Regions from separate parts of the Homo sapiens genome. Here region 2 is linked to region 1. The links are contacts of gene promoters, found by promoter capture Hi-C in human tissues and cell types (Jung and others, 2019). All regions are on one chromosome and are shown on one strand. The core of a region is centred on a gene start or on the middle of the fragment in contact, and the rest is flanking DNA. Distances in the headings are between cores, read along the strand shown. Region 1 holds the start of POLG2 (DNA polymerase gamma 2, accessory subunit). Region 2 has its middle 52 kb from the start of SMURF2.

Region 1 (5,817 bases), core at 1,518-4,017:
GTAGATGTGTGTATCTTATTGCATCATAACATGAGGAACATGTTATCAAATTATTCCACTACTGAAGACACCAAATTTGATTACTTGGTTAAGGTAGTAAATATCCACTCCCCAATAATATCCTGCTCCCCAACAGTATTTCACCCAGTATTTTAGAATCCATTGATGACTGTTGCTTGAATCAATGATATCGGGGTTTGCAATATCATGAAATGGTGAATTTTCTAATGTATCTTTCCTTCTACATTTATTCCATAGCTTCTGTAAAAACATAAGCTTTCTCTACCTCTTCCCCCCGCCCCCGACCTCTAGGGTCAATTATTTGTTTTTGATTAATACTATTGACTCTTAGATTTTAGTCAATGTGTTATGATCCATTACCATTAATATGTATCTTAATGTTCAATTTGTCCTAGATGTGGCCAGTGACAACCCTCCTCAAGCCAGCATCTGTGACCTTTTTATATGACCCATTAGTCTTCAAGCAATTCTTTGCTTTTTAGCACCATAAAGTGTTTCAAACTCACCTTGTACTTTCCCTAACCCCAGACCCGGAATCAGCCATTTCTCCCAGTACTGGTTCATCTTAGAAACCAAGATCTGGAGGCCGGGCGCAGTGGCTCACGCCTGTAATCCCAGCACTTTGGGAGGCCGAGGCGGGCGGATCACAAGGTCAGGAGATAGAGACCATCCTGGCTAACAAGGTGAAACCCCGTCTCTACTAAAAATACAAAAAATTAGCCAGGCGTGGTGGCAAGTGCCTGTAGTCTAGTCCCAGCTACTCGGGAGGCTGAGGCAGGAGAATGGCGTGAACCTGGGAGATGGAGCTTGCAGTGAGCCGAGATTGTGCCACTGCACTCCAGCCTGGGCGGCAGAGCGAGACTCTGTCTCAAAAAAAAAAAAAAAAGGAACCAGGATCTGGGCACTAGGTGTGCTCATTGCTACTGAGGGTCATTGCTTCTAGGAACTTTAAACGAAGAAAGTTAGGAAATATATTTTTAAAAATCATGAGGCTGGGCACTGTGGCTCACACCTGTAATCCCAGCACTTTGGGGGGCCAAGATGGGCGGATTGCTTAAGCTCAGGAGTTCAAGACCAGCCTGGACAACATGGCAAAACCTCATCTCTACAAAAAACACAAAAATTAGCTGGGTGTGGTGGCATGTGCCTGTAGTCCAGCTACTTGGGAGGCTGAGGTGGGAGGTTCACTTGAGCCCGAGGTCGAGGCTGCAGTGAGCCATGATCACACCACTGCACTCGAGTCTGGGTGACAGAGTGAGACCCATATTCAATTTTAATTTACCAATTCATATTTAATTTACCAATCCATATTTAACATTAGTTTATACGTACCTTCTTTTACATATTATCTCTTCTTTTACAATGAATATCTTGGTTCCTAATAACAACTAACCCAACTATTTGAATTTTTTTTTTTTAAGACGGAGTTTTGCTCTTGTCACCCAAGCTGGAGTGCAGTGGCGTGATCTCGGCTCACTGCAACCTCTGCCTCCTGGGTTCAAGCGATTCTCCTGCCTCAGCCTCCCAAGTAGCTGGGATTACAGGCGCTCGCCGTCACGGCCGGCTAATTTTTGTCTTTTTAGTAGAGACGGGGTTTCACCATGTTGGCCAGGCTAGTCTCGAACTCCTGACCTCAGGTGATCCACCCGCCTCTGCCTTGCAAAATGCTGGGATTACAGGCGTGAGCCACTGCGCCTGGCCTTGATTTATCCTATGATATACATGAAATAGTTTCAGAATTATAATTTCAACATTTTTACTTAGAATAAATCTAAGAAAAGTTCAAAATGTCTGTGTAGTTCCTTATGCACTTAGACTACATTGCACTAAATGACAGCACTGTGTTCAGAAGTTGCCCCGTGAAATTGAGAGCGTTCCCAGGTCCTTCGGACAGATTGTTTAAGGAACAGCAATGATTCCATGGACCAGTTTTCTCCAGGGTAGAGCACTGTTAATATATCCGACTACTTCAAAAAGATGAGAACTAACTAACTTCCTTGCATGGGAATACAGGGCCAGTTGCAATCCCCAAGATCCAGCAAGACTGCCTCGCCTTTCCACCCGACACCTGTTTTGAAGCATGAAATCGTGAAGCATACCGTGAAGAAGGTTCTCCCGTAGTTTCCCAGAAGTTTTTAATACGTTCTCAAGAAATGCTACTAGCTGTTCCTTACTCAGCTCTTTGTCTTGCAAGATTTCGCGTAGAGTTTCTGCAGAAACTAACCTGAAGGCACTGTCCCCGGGTAGCAAAGGGCCTGGTTTGTGGTGGAGGGCGTCCACCGGGAATACCTGCTCCCTGAACACCACCACCGAGGTCCACCATTCTGCGGCCAGGTTCTTCCGCAACTCTACGCCCAAGGGTCCGAAGCCGGGGTGGCACCCACTCAGAAGAGAATCCCGGCTAAGCTGCTGCTTGCTTCCACTTAGGAAATGCCTTCTCTGACAGATCTCTAACAGCGCCTCGCTTCCCTCTCCAGACCCGGGGGCTTCTGGGTGCTCGCCGTTCCCCTCGAGCTCCGCGTGCGACTTCACATGCCCTCCTTTGGGGCTACTCCTTTCCGTCAACAGCTCCGGCTGCCCCGCATCTACTCGACCCCCAAACCCAGACAACAGGCACCTGCAGACCTTATGGCAGGCCCTGACGGCTACACGAGAGCGCATCTCTCTCCGAAGTTAAAGAGCACACTCTCCCATCACTCAACGGATCCCAACAAGCCACCACTACCGTTAACAGAATCCGGAGAGGCCACGGCGCAGGCGCAACGGAGGTGAGCGTGCTTGCGGGCGGCAGGCCCCACCCCGGAAGCGCATGTCTGCGTTCCGGCCGCAGCCGTCCCCCGCCCACCATGGCGGACGCCGGCTCGGATGGTTCTCTGCTAGCTTGCCGTTCGCGTCGCGCCCCTCCCTTCAGATTGACTTTTTTCTTTCCTCGTAAGCACCAGTAAAGGTTATTCCCACCTATTTATAACCGTGGTGTAGCCACTTGAGTCACTTCCTTCTGCCACTGTTTTGCAGTCCAGAAAATTAAAATACTTCAGTATTATCCAAATCACCTTCTATATACACCTCAATCAAGCACTTGGACTAAATTTGGCATTTGGTTTCCCTTTAAACAGTTTTAGTCCTTTACGGTGATTTGTAAGCCCAGGCCTTCTTAACTAGGCAAATGCTGCCGCCAGGTGGCCTAGGCCTAACCCCAGAGCCGTTGTCTTGACGCTTAAGCTTCCGGGGAGGGGGGCGATAGGCTTCGTGACTAGGGTAGTGGTATGGTCACTTTAAATATTGCAGTGGCTTCCAAAGGGCAGTCCCCAGCCAGCAGCATCTGCCTCACCTGGGAATGCACTAGAAATAAACCAAGGGGCCCTGACATGTCTTAAACCCTCCTGGTGTCAGAGAAAACCACGTACGTGCAATTTCTTCCAGGGGCCCCTTCTATGGGTTCATCAAAACAATGAGACTTGTGACTGTTATTATTAAGAGACTCATGATTAAATTGCAGGTTTCTGATTTTGCAGTTTCTATTTAAATAGGTCGAGACCTTAAGACCTACCCAGAAAGTGGAAAAGTGGTATACCCAGACTGAGGAAGTTTGATTCCAAAGTCCATGATTTCTTATACCAGCCTCAGTTACGAAAACCTTTAAAGAGGTTCAGGGAAAAAGGAACAATCTACATTTCACTGTGAGACTACCAAACTACTACCTGATTAAGAGGGGTAACAGCTTAGCAATTGAGTTAATGTAATTCAGGAGTAAAGTTTTATCATTAGTAAAGTGCTGTACCAGGTTCAGGAAATAGTTCTTCTTTACAAGTGTATACAAGGGTTTAAAAAAAGGCCAGCTAGATAGTAATTAACTGCAAAGCTGGGTACTACTGCCAGGTGTTTTCCACATTCAGGAACTCACACCAGGTAAAAGGCCTATACGCAAATAAATAAAAAGAGAGAATGGGGAGAAAAATCACATTTATTAGTTAAGACGACCACAGGCTGGACACAACACACATGCTAAAAAGTGGACTGTCTTTTAAAACTTCCAAGGTAAATAGGTAAATGTTTTCCACAGCCCAACAATCATTTCAGTGTTTACAAATTAAAAGGCCCACGGTTAAGACATTAAACAGTAAAATATGTAATAAATGCTCCAACCTACCCTCTCCCCCGAAAGCTGCTTCTAAGTTTAAAACCATGAATTTGACTAACCATGCCATTGAAAACCATCCAGGTTACTACAGGCTGAATTAGTTTTCAATGTCTAAGTCCTAGAAATATCACTCCCTATCCCAGCCCTAGCAAATTCTAACTTTACATTTGACATAAGGCATTAACATCAATTAAAGCCTCAGTTTAATAATCAGAATTTAAATGAAGTCTCCTGAAGACCTCTCTTCTGGCAAAAAAAAACACGTATCAGACTCTGGGAAAACATTCAGACCCACTTCTAGCTATTACTGAAATAAATGATTAGAAAGTTACGTTGGTGAGCCGAAGTTAAACCTAAAGCTATCCCCTGGATCTTTCTAGCAATAAACCCATGTTGAACCTACCATGAAAACTTTCATTCACTGTGCTTTTGGTTACGTTGCCTCCTGATTAGTCATTAATTTTAATGAGGTTTTTTCCTTGTGTTGAGTATGAATAGACCTTACAGTTTGAGGATCTCTAGAATTCCCTGAATTATTGGAAAGACATTCATGACTCCCAGTGTGACTAGTTAAGAGCCCCAGGGAGCCTGTGAAGACTAGAATCTACAAGTAACCTGCACTAAGAACGAAATTCAGTAAAGGAGACTCAAGCTTAGCTCCTGGCCATCTTAAAGGGCTAATGTATGTCTTTCACAGGTTTGTTCAACATTTCAGTAATTCACAGTATAGCCAAGAGCATGAGTATAAGTCTCTTGAAAAAGCCAGTTATTTGGAGCTTTTTAAATTATAAACTTTGAAAAAGTCACCCACGTTCTCACACTATATAGATGACTTTGTATCTATTTTACTATTTTCTCATTTAACCATACTAGCAAATAAGGAAAAAGGCTATTAAATGACTCCCCTGATGCTGGAAGCTGACAAAGCTTTTATGCAATTTAGCCTGTAACTAAAAATTCACCTGTATCAATTCATTCTGACTCCTGCAATATGAATAGCTCATTATAAAGAAGGGCCTTCTGATTCCCCCTGCCTCCCAAATTAAATAAAAAGGAACAGTCATTTGTTTTCATGGAAAAAAAAAACCAAACAAAAACAAAAAAAAAACCAGACCATCTTAAGCAAAGTTTTACATGACATTATATAAAATAAAGTACAATTTCCACTTAATTCAGTCTTCAAATATTTTTTATTGGAAGGCCATGCATTGCCTTCATTTATTGTATTTCAAATCACTGTACATTTACTTTTGTGAAAACACTGCCTGCATTTTCTAGTACAAAAAAAACCTAAAAATTGTTTCAGGAATGTAGAGAAATATCCAACTTAAATAGCGAAAAAGTGCACCATAATTACTGCTGCACTGCAGTCATTTCTGCAATTCCCATGTTTCTTAAATAACTATCTTGTCAGATAACACACAATATAAAGAGCAATTATGAAAAACAGACATTTACATATACTTCTAAAGTCTTATTGGGAATATCCTGTTGGCATTGGATAACCAATCATAGGTGCAGCTGCAGTAGCAGGATATGCATATGCCTGTTGGTTCATACCATTGTGCATATTTGGAACATTACTTCCGTATTGCTGAGTGCTATCATAACCATTCTGGTAAGTCCCTGTTGGATTACCAGTCCTAAAACTGGTC
Region 2 (6,079 bases), core at 1,629-4,128, 220 kb after region 1:
TCAGTTTCCCCATCTGTGAGAAGAGGATTAGAATGCAGGGATGAGGCCAGGTGCAGTGGTTCATACCTGTGATCCCAGTACTTTGGGAGATCAAGGCAGGAGAATCACTTGAGCCCAGGAGTTCAAGACCAGCCTGGGCAACAAAGAGAGACCTCCGTCTCTACAGAAAGTTAAAAAATTAGCTGGGTGTGGTGATGCACACCTGTAATCTCACCTATTTGGGAGGCTGAGGTGGGAGGATCACTTGAGCCTGGGAGGTTGAGGCTACAGTGAGCCATGATGGTGCCATTGTACTGCAGCCTAGGTGACAGAGTGAGACTCTGTCTCAAAAAAAAAAAAATTTAAATTAAAAAACGAAAAGAATGTCTATCTGGCCCTTAGCAACCGTGAGTGCTGGAGGAATCATGTTACATTTGAAGGCAGCTCCGAGGTACTGGAGTGGAGTCGGGTGGCTTCGCAGAAGGGTCCTGCTGTTAACACACTTTCCCTCGGGCAGATCCCCTCATACTGCCCGGACCTTCCAGTCCTTCACTCATTCTTCACTAAAGGCTGCAAGGGGCCAGGGCATGATGGCTCATGCCTATAATCCCAGCACTTTGGGAGGCCGAGGTGGGTGGATTGCTTGAGGTCAGGAGTTCAAAACCAGCCTGGCCAACATGGTGAAGCCCCGTCTCTACAAAAAAAAAATTACAAAAATACAAAAATTAGCCAGGCATGGTGGCGTGTGCCTATAATCCCAGCTACTCCGGAGGCTGAAGCACGAGAATCACTTGAACCCAGGAGGCAGAGGTTGCAGTGAACTGAGATCATGCCACTGCACTCCAGCCTGGGCGACAGGGCGAGACCCTGTCTCAAAAAATTAAAAAAAAAATGCTCCAAGGTCAAGGGCTTTTCAGACCCTCTTGGTCCATTTGGTTAGGGGGTGTTTTCACAAAGCTTTGCCTTGTTAGCTTTATGGGACCCGGAGGGCATACTTTATAGAACACAATCTTCATACCAGTGTCTCTAACCACAAACCCCAAGAGTCTGAACGTTGAGACACTCAGGAAGTTGAAAGGGACCTCTCCTCTTCAGAGGCCCGGCCCAGCTCTCAGGAATGGCATGCATCAAAAGGCAGGAAGTCCCTCACAAGTCTGTCCTATCAAGCCACCAGACACTGGTTACCTTTATGTGGCTGCACAAGAGGCTGAGTTCCCAGGGAGGGGCGAGGTGGTCTGGGGCTTTCAAGCCGTGGTGGAACCCACGCCTGAGAAGGGAGGCCTGCCGCTCCCACCACAGGAAGCCTGGCCCCCGCCAGCAACAGAGAGACTCAGAGCCCAGGCCTCAGTGCCCTCATGGGATAAGTGGCATTTTGGTTCCTGTTTCCTTCCCTCTCTGTTTTTCTTTTTCTTTTCATAGATTCTCCAAGCAAATATTAAACATGTCCTGCAAATCTCAGGAATCAGCACACAGAGAAACACAAAGAAGAGTAAGTGGCCTTCTTCCAAGACCTGGTTTATCAAAGGTCTGAGGCAGTCCTGATCCGCTGCTCTCCTCCTGCTGGCTGAGCCTTGCCACTGGCTCAGTGGCCCAGGGTGCCAGCTCCCTTTCCTGGGCCTCCCGGGAAAGGGGAGGGAGAAGGTCGAGGGAGCAAGAGGGTTCCAGGGCTGCCTCCAGGGCTGGCCTGGCAAGTTGCAGCTCTGTCCCTGGCGATTTCCCTGCAGCCAATGGCTGTGGAAGAGGAAAGGAGAGGACCTTTTGATGTGGTGGAGAAGCATCATTGTAGAAGGGAGAGGAATAAGTAAAAGGTTGGCCAGGGAACCATGGCCGGGCACGGTGGCTCCTGCCTGTATTCCCAGCACTTTGGGAGGCCAAGGTGGGCAGATCACTTGAGGCCAGGAGTTCAAGACCAGCCTGGCCAACATGGTGAAACCCCTTCTCTACTAAAAATACAAAAATTAGCCGGGCGTGGTGGTGAGCACCTGTAGTCTCAGCTACTTGGGAGGCTGAGGCAGGAGAAGCACTTGAACCCGGGAAGCGGAGGTTGCAGTGAGCCGAGATCGCGCCACTGTACTCCAGCCTGGGCGACAGAGTGAGTGAGACTCCGTCTCAAAAAAAAAAAAAAAAAAGTAAAATGTTGGCCAGGGAGCCTTGCTGGCCTCCTGAAGGCAGCCAAACATTAAACACACCTACAGTCACAGAGTCCAGCTTAAGGAAGAGGCAGACCAGAAAGTGAAAGTGAAGAAAGAACGGGAGGAGAGATGGGTGGGGGCGCGGATCAAGGCAGAAAAGGGAGGCAAAAGGCAAGGCTCCTAGGGACAGAGAGTGGTGACATGCCAGCTTCTGTTCGTTAAAACCCTGCTCTGGACCATGAACACTGCTAGGCAATTTCGTTATGACAGCTCCTTGCATCCTCCCAGCATTTTACAGCTAAGGAAACTGAAGACCGTGAGGTTAAATTCTTCACCCGAGGTCCACAGCTAGGGATTAGCAGAATCAGTGTTTGAACCCAAGGCTGCCTGACTCCAGTGTCACACCCAAACTGTTCCTGTCTCTCTGTTAGCAGTTCTTAGTTGCTGGGGATTCAGACTCTATTTTGTTGCTTGTGTAGTTCAATACAGCTCCCCCCACTGTGGCCACATTGCAGCCTACAGATGCAATAAAAAGGAGGGGAAGGCATGCATTTCCTTTAAGGGTACACCTGAGGTCAGGAGTTCGAGATCAGCCTGACCAACATGGAGAAACACAACTCTACTAAAAATACAAAATTAGCTGGGCATTGTGGTGCATGCCTGTAATCCCAGCTACCCGGGAGGCCAAGGCAGGAGAAACGCTTGAACCCAGGAGGCAGAGGTTGCGGTGAGCCAAGGTTGTGGTGAGCCGAGATCACACCATTGTACTCCAGCCTGGGCAACAAGAGCGAAACTCCATCCATCTCAAAAAAAAAAAAAAAATGCTGTGAATCTTGAACAGAGAATGCAATAGACAGCAAGAAAGGTCTGGTGGCATCTTCGAAGGAGCCTTCATCTCCTATACTTTCAGGGTGGATATGATGGAAGACTCAGCCCAGGGCCTCATTGTGCATGTAGGAGTTCCAAGTAAATGCTTAGGAAAGGGCATAGTGGGGACGTAGTGGGACCCTGAGACTTAGAATAGGAGCATCTAAGTGGTCACAGACAAGGCTGAGACTCTGGCACTTTTGAATTCTCAAATCCTTCAAAGCTCCCTTGTCTGTTCAGGCAGGTCCTCCCGTGTAGAGGTAACCAACTTATCCCTGCCTAAGGAACCTTCTGTGACTGCACCTAGGACAGTTGCTTCACTAAAAAGGGACACCAGATCTTCTCTTCATTCCTCCAGCATCAAAAGGAGAGTTAGATCCCAACATAGCCCACTTGGGCAGTACAAGGCCTGCTCTAGAAAGAGAATGTCTATACACTAAAGAAGTGGCAGGACCTTGCCAGTTCAAATCCACAAGGGTCTTGGGAGCACGTGTCGGAGAGGATTCTAAGCATTGTGTTAGCCTAAAGATGGTAAACACAAGGCTTGGCTGGGCACAGAGCCTCGTGCCTGTAATTCCAGCACTTTGGGAGGCTGAGGCGGGCGGATCACTCTTCAAACTCCTCAAACTCAGGAGTTTGAGACCAGCCTGGCCAACATGGTGAAACCTGTTTCTACTAAAAATACAAAAAATTAGCTGGGCGTGGTGGTGGGTGCATGCCTGTAGTCTCAGCTACTCGGGAAGCTGAGGCAGGAGAATCGCTTGAACCCAGGAGGCAGAGGTTGCAGTGAGCCGAGATCGTGCCATTGCACTCCAGCCTGGGTGAAAAAGTGAGAATCTGTGTCAAAAAATAAATAAATAAATAAAAATAAATAAATAAATAAAAGGCTTGATTGGGCTGAATTCACTGATACACTCACCCAGGTTTGGGCTTTGGAGTTGGCATGAATAGTCTACAATGGCTAACTCAGACTTGACTTAATAGAGACGTAAAGTTAAAGTTCCACCACCCAGAAGCAGCTGGGTTAGAGGGCGGTGAAATGGCTGCTGAAAGTTCATTTACAGGGTTAGCCTGGAGACAACACCCTGTTGGCTTCAAGTGTTGGCCTACAGGTTGCAGTTATGTCTTTTAAAAGCTGCTAACATTTGGAATTGTCTCCTTCAAAACTAGAAAGTGTACATCTAGATGCCGGGCGTGGTGGCTCACGCCTGTAATCCCAGCACTTTGGGAGGCTGACGCAGGTGCATCAGGAGGTCAGGAGTTTGAGACCAGCCTGGCCAAGAAGGTGAAACCCCGTCTCTACTAAAAATATGAAAATTAGCTGGGCTCTCCCTCTCCCTCTCCCTCTCCCCTCTCCCCTCTCCCCTCTCCCCTCTCCCTCTCGGTCTCCCTCTCCCTCTCTTTCCACGGTCTCCCTCTGATGCCGAGCCGAAGCTGGACTGTACTGCTGCCATCTCGGCTCACTGCAACCTCCCTGCCTGATTCTCCTGCCTCAGCCTGCCGAGTGCCTGCCATTGCAGGCGCGCGCCACCACGCCTGACTGGTTTTCGTACTTTTTTGGTGGAGACGGGGTTTCGCTGTGTTGGCCGGGCTGGTCTCCAGCTCCTAACCGCGAGTGATCCGCCAGCCTCGGCCTCCCGAGGTGCCGGGATTGCAGACGGAGTCTGGTTCACTCAGTGCTCAATGGTGCCCAGGCTGGAGTGCAGTGGCGTGATCTCAGCTCGCTACAACCTCCATCTCCCAGCCGCCTGCCTTGGCCTCCCAAAGTGCCGAGATTGCAGCCTCTGCCCGGCCGCCACCCCGTCTGGAAAGTGAGGAGCGTCTCTGCCCGGCCGCCATCCCATCTAGGAAGTGAGGAGCGCCTCTTCCCGGCTGCCCATCGTCTGAGATGTGGGGAGCGCCTCTGCCCCGCCGCCCCGTCTGGGATGTGAGGAGCGCCTCTGCCCAGCCGCGACCCCATCTGGGAGGTGAGGAGCGTCTCTGCCCAGCCGCCCCGTCTGAGAAGTGAGGAGACCCTCTGCCCAGCATCCGCCCCGTCTGAGAAGTGAGGAGCCCCTCCGCCCGGCAGCCGCCCCATCTGAGAAGTGAGGAGCCCCTCTGCCCGGCAGCCACCCCGTCTGGGAAGTGAGGAGCCCCTCTGCCCGGCCGCCCCTACTGGGAAGTGAGGAGCCCCTCTGCCCGGCCACCACCCCGTCTGGGAGGTGTACCCAACAGCTCATTGAGAACGGGCCGGGATGACAATGGCGGTTTTGTGGAATAGAAAGGGGGGAAAGGTGGGGAAAAGATTGGGAAATCGGATGGTTGCCGTGTCTGTGTAGAAAGAAGTAGACATGGGAGACTTTTCATTTTGTTCTGTACTAAGATAAATTCTTCTGCCTTGGGATCCTGTTGATCGGTGACCTTACCCACAACCCTGTGCTCTCTGAAACATGTGCTGTGTCCACTCAGGGTTAAATGGATTAAGGGCGGTGCAAGATGTGCTTTGTTAAACAGATGCTTGAAGGCAGCATGCTTGTTAAGAATCATCACCACTCCCTAATCTCAAGTTCCCAGGGACACAAACACTGCGGAAGGCCGCAGGGTCCTCTGCCTAGGAAAACCAAAGACCTTTGTTCACTTGTTTATCTGCCGACCTTCCCTCCACTATTGTCCTGTGACCCTGCCAAATCCCCCTCTGCGAGAAACACCCAAGAATGATCAATTAAAAAAATAAAAATTAAAAAAAAAAAAAAAGAAAAGAAAATTAGCTGGGCATGGTGGTGGGCTCCTGTAATACTAGCTACTTGGCAGGCTGAGGCAGGAGAATCACCTGAACCTGGGAGGCCGAGGTTGCAGTGAGCCAAGATTGCACCACTGCACTCTAGCCTGTGCAACAGAGCAAGACTCTGTCTCAAAAAAAAAAAAAAAAAAGGAAAAGAAAAAAGAAAGCGTATATCTAGGAAACAGAGGGTGAAAGAGTAGCTACTCTCATGCTTACACCTAAGAACACACTTGAAGAACTCTTGCTGCCCATCCCTATGACCTTGGATTTGGGAGTCTGAATATTCTAGTGCCTGAGGTGGGAACTGTTTCTACCAGGGGATTGTACTACCATGGTCATG

Evidence for each region. The method cuts DNA at HindIII sites, captures the fragments that hold promoters and counts their contacts. A contact is called where the count stands out against the background at its distance.
Region 2: a contact is called between a fragment that was not itself captured here and the fragment with the promoter of POLG2 in region 1, in 1 of the 25 tissues and cell types used here (dorsolateral prefrontal cortex).

Annotation. Positions count from the first base shown.
Region 1 is chr17:64,494,287-64,500,103 of GRCh38, forward strand. POLG2 (DNA polymerase gamma 2, accessory subunit) reads right to left here and starts at 2,768. Exons shown (of 8, transcript NM_007215.4): 1 at 2,121-2,768. The coding sequence starts at 2,682. DDX5 (DEAD-box helicase 5) reads right to left here. Exons shown (of 13, transcript NM_004396.5): 13 at 3,968-5,817. The coding sequence ends at 5,637. It also overlaps a transcript of MILR1 not described here. RefSeq lists enhancers at 1,945-2,804, 2,456-2,525, 2,906-3,045. The HindIII fragment of the contact is 4,462 bases long and covers 1-4,028 here.
Region 2 is chr17:64,711,668-64,717,746 of GRCh38, forward strand. No RefSeq gene overlaps it. Among named protein-coding and RNA genes, the nearest start is that of SMURF2, 52 kb to the left of the region's middle. RefSeq lists an enhancer at 1,326-1,375. The HindIII fragment of the contact is 7,938 bases long and covers 1-6,079 here.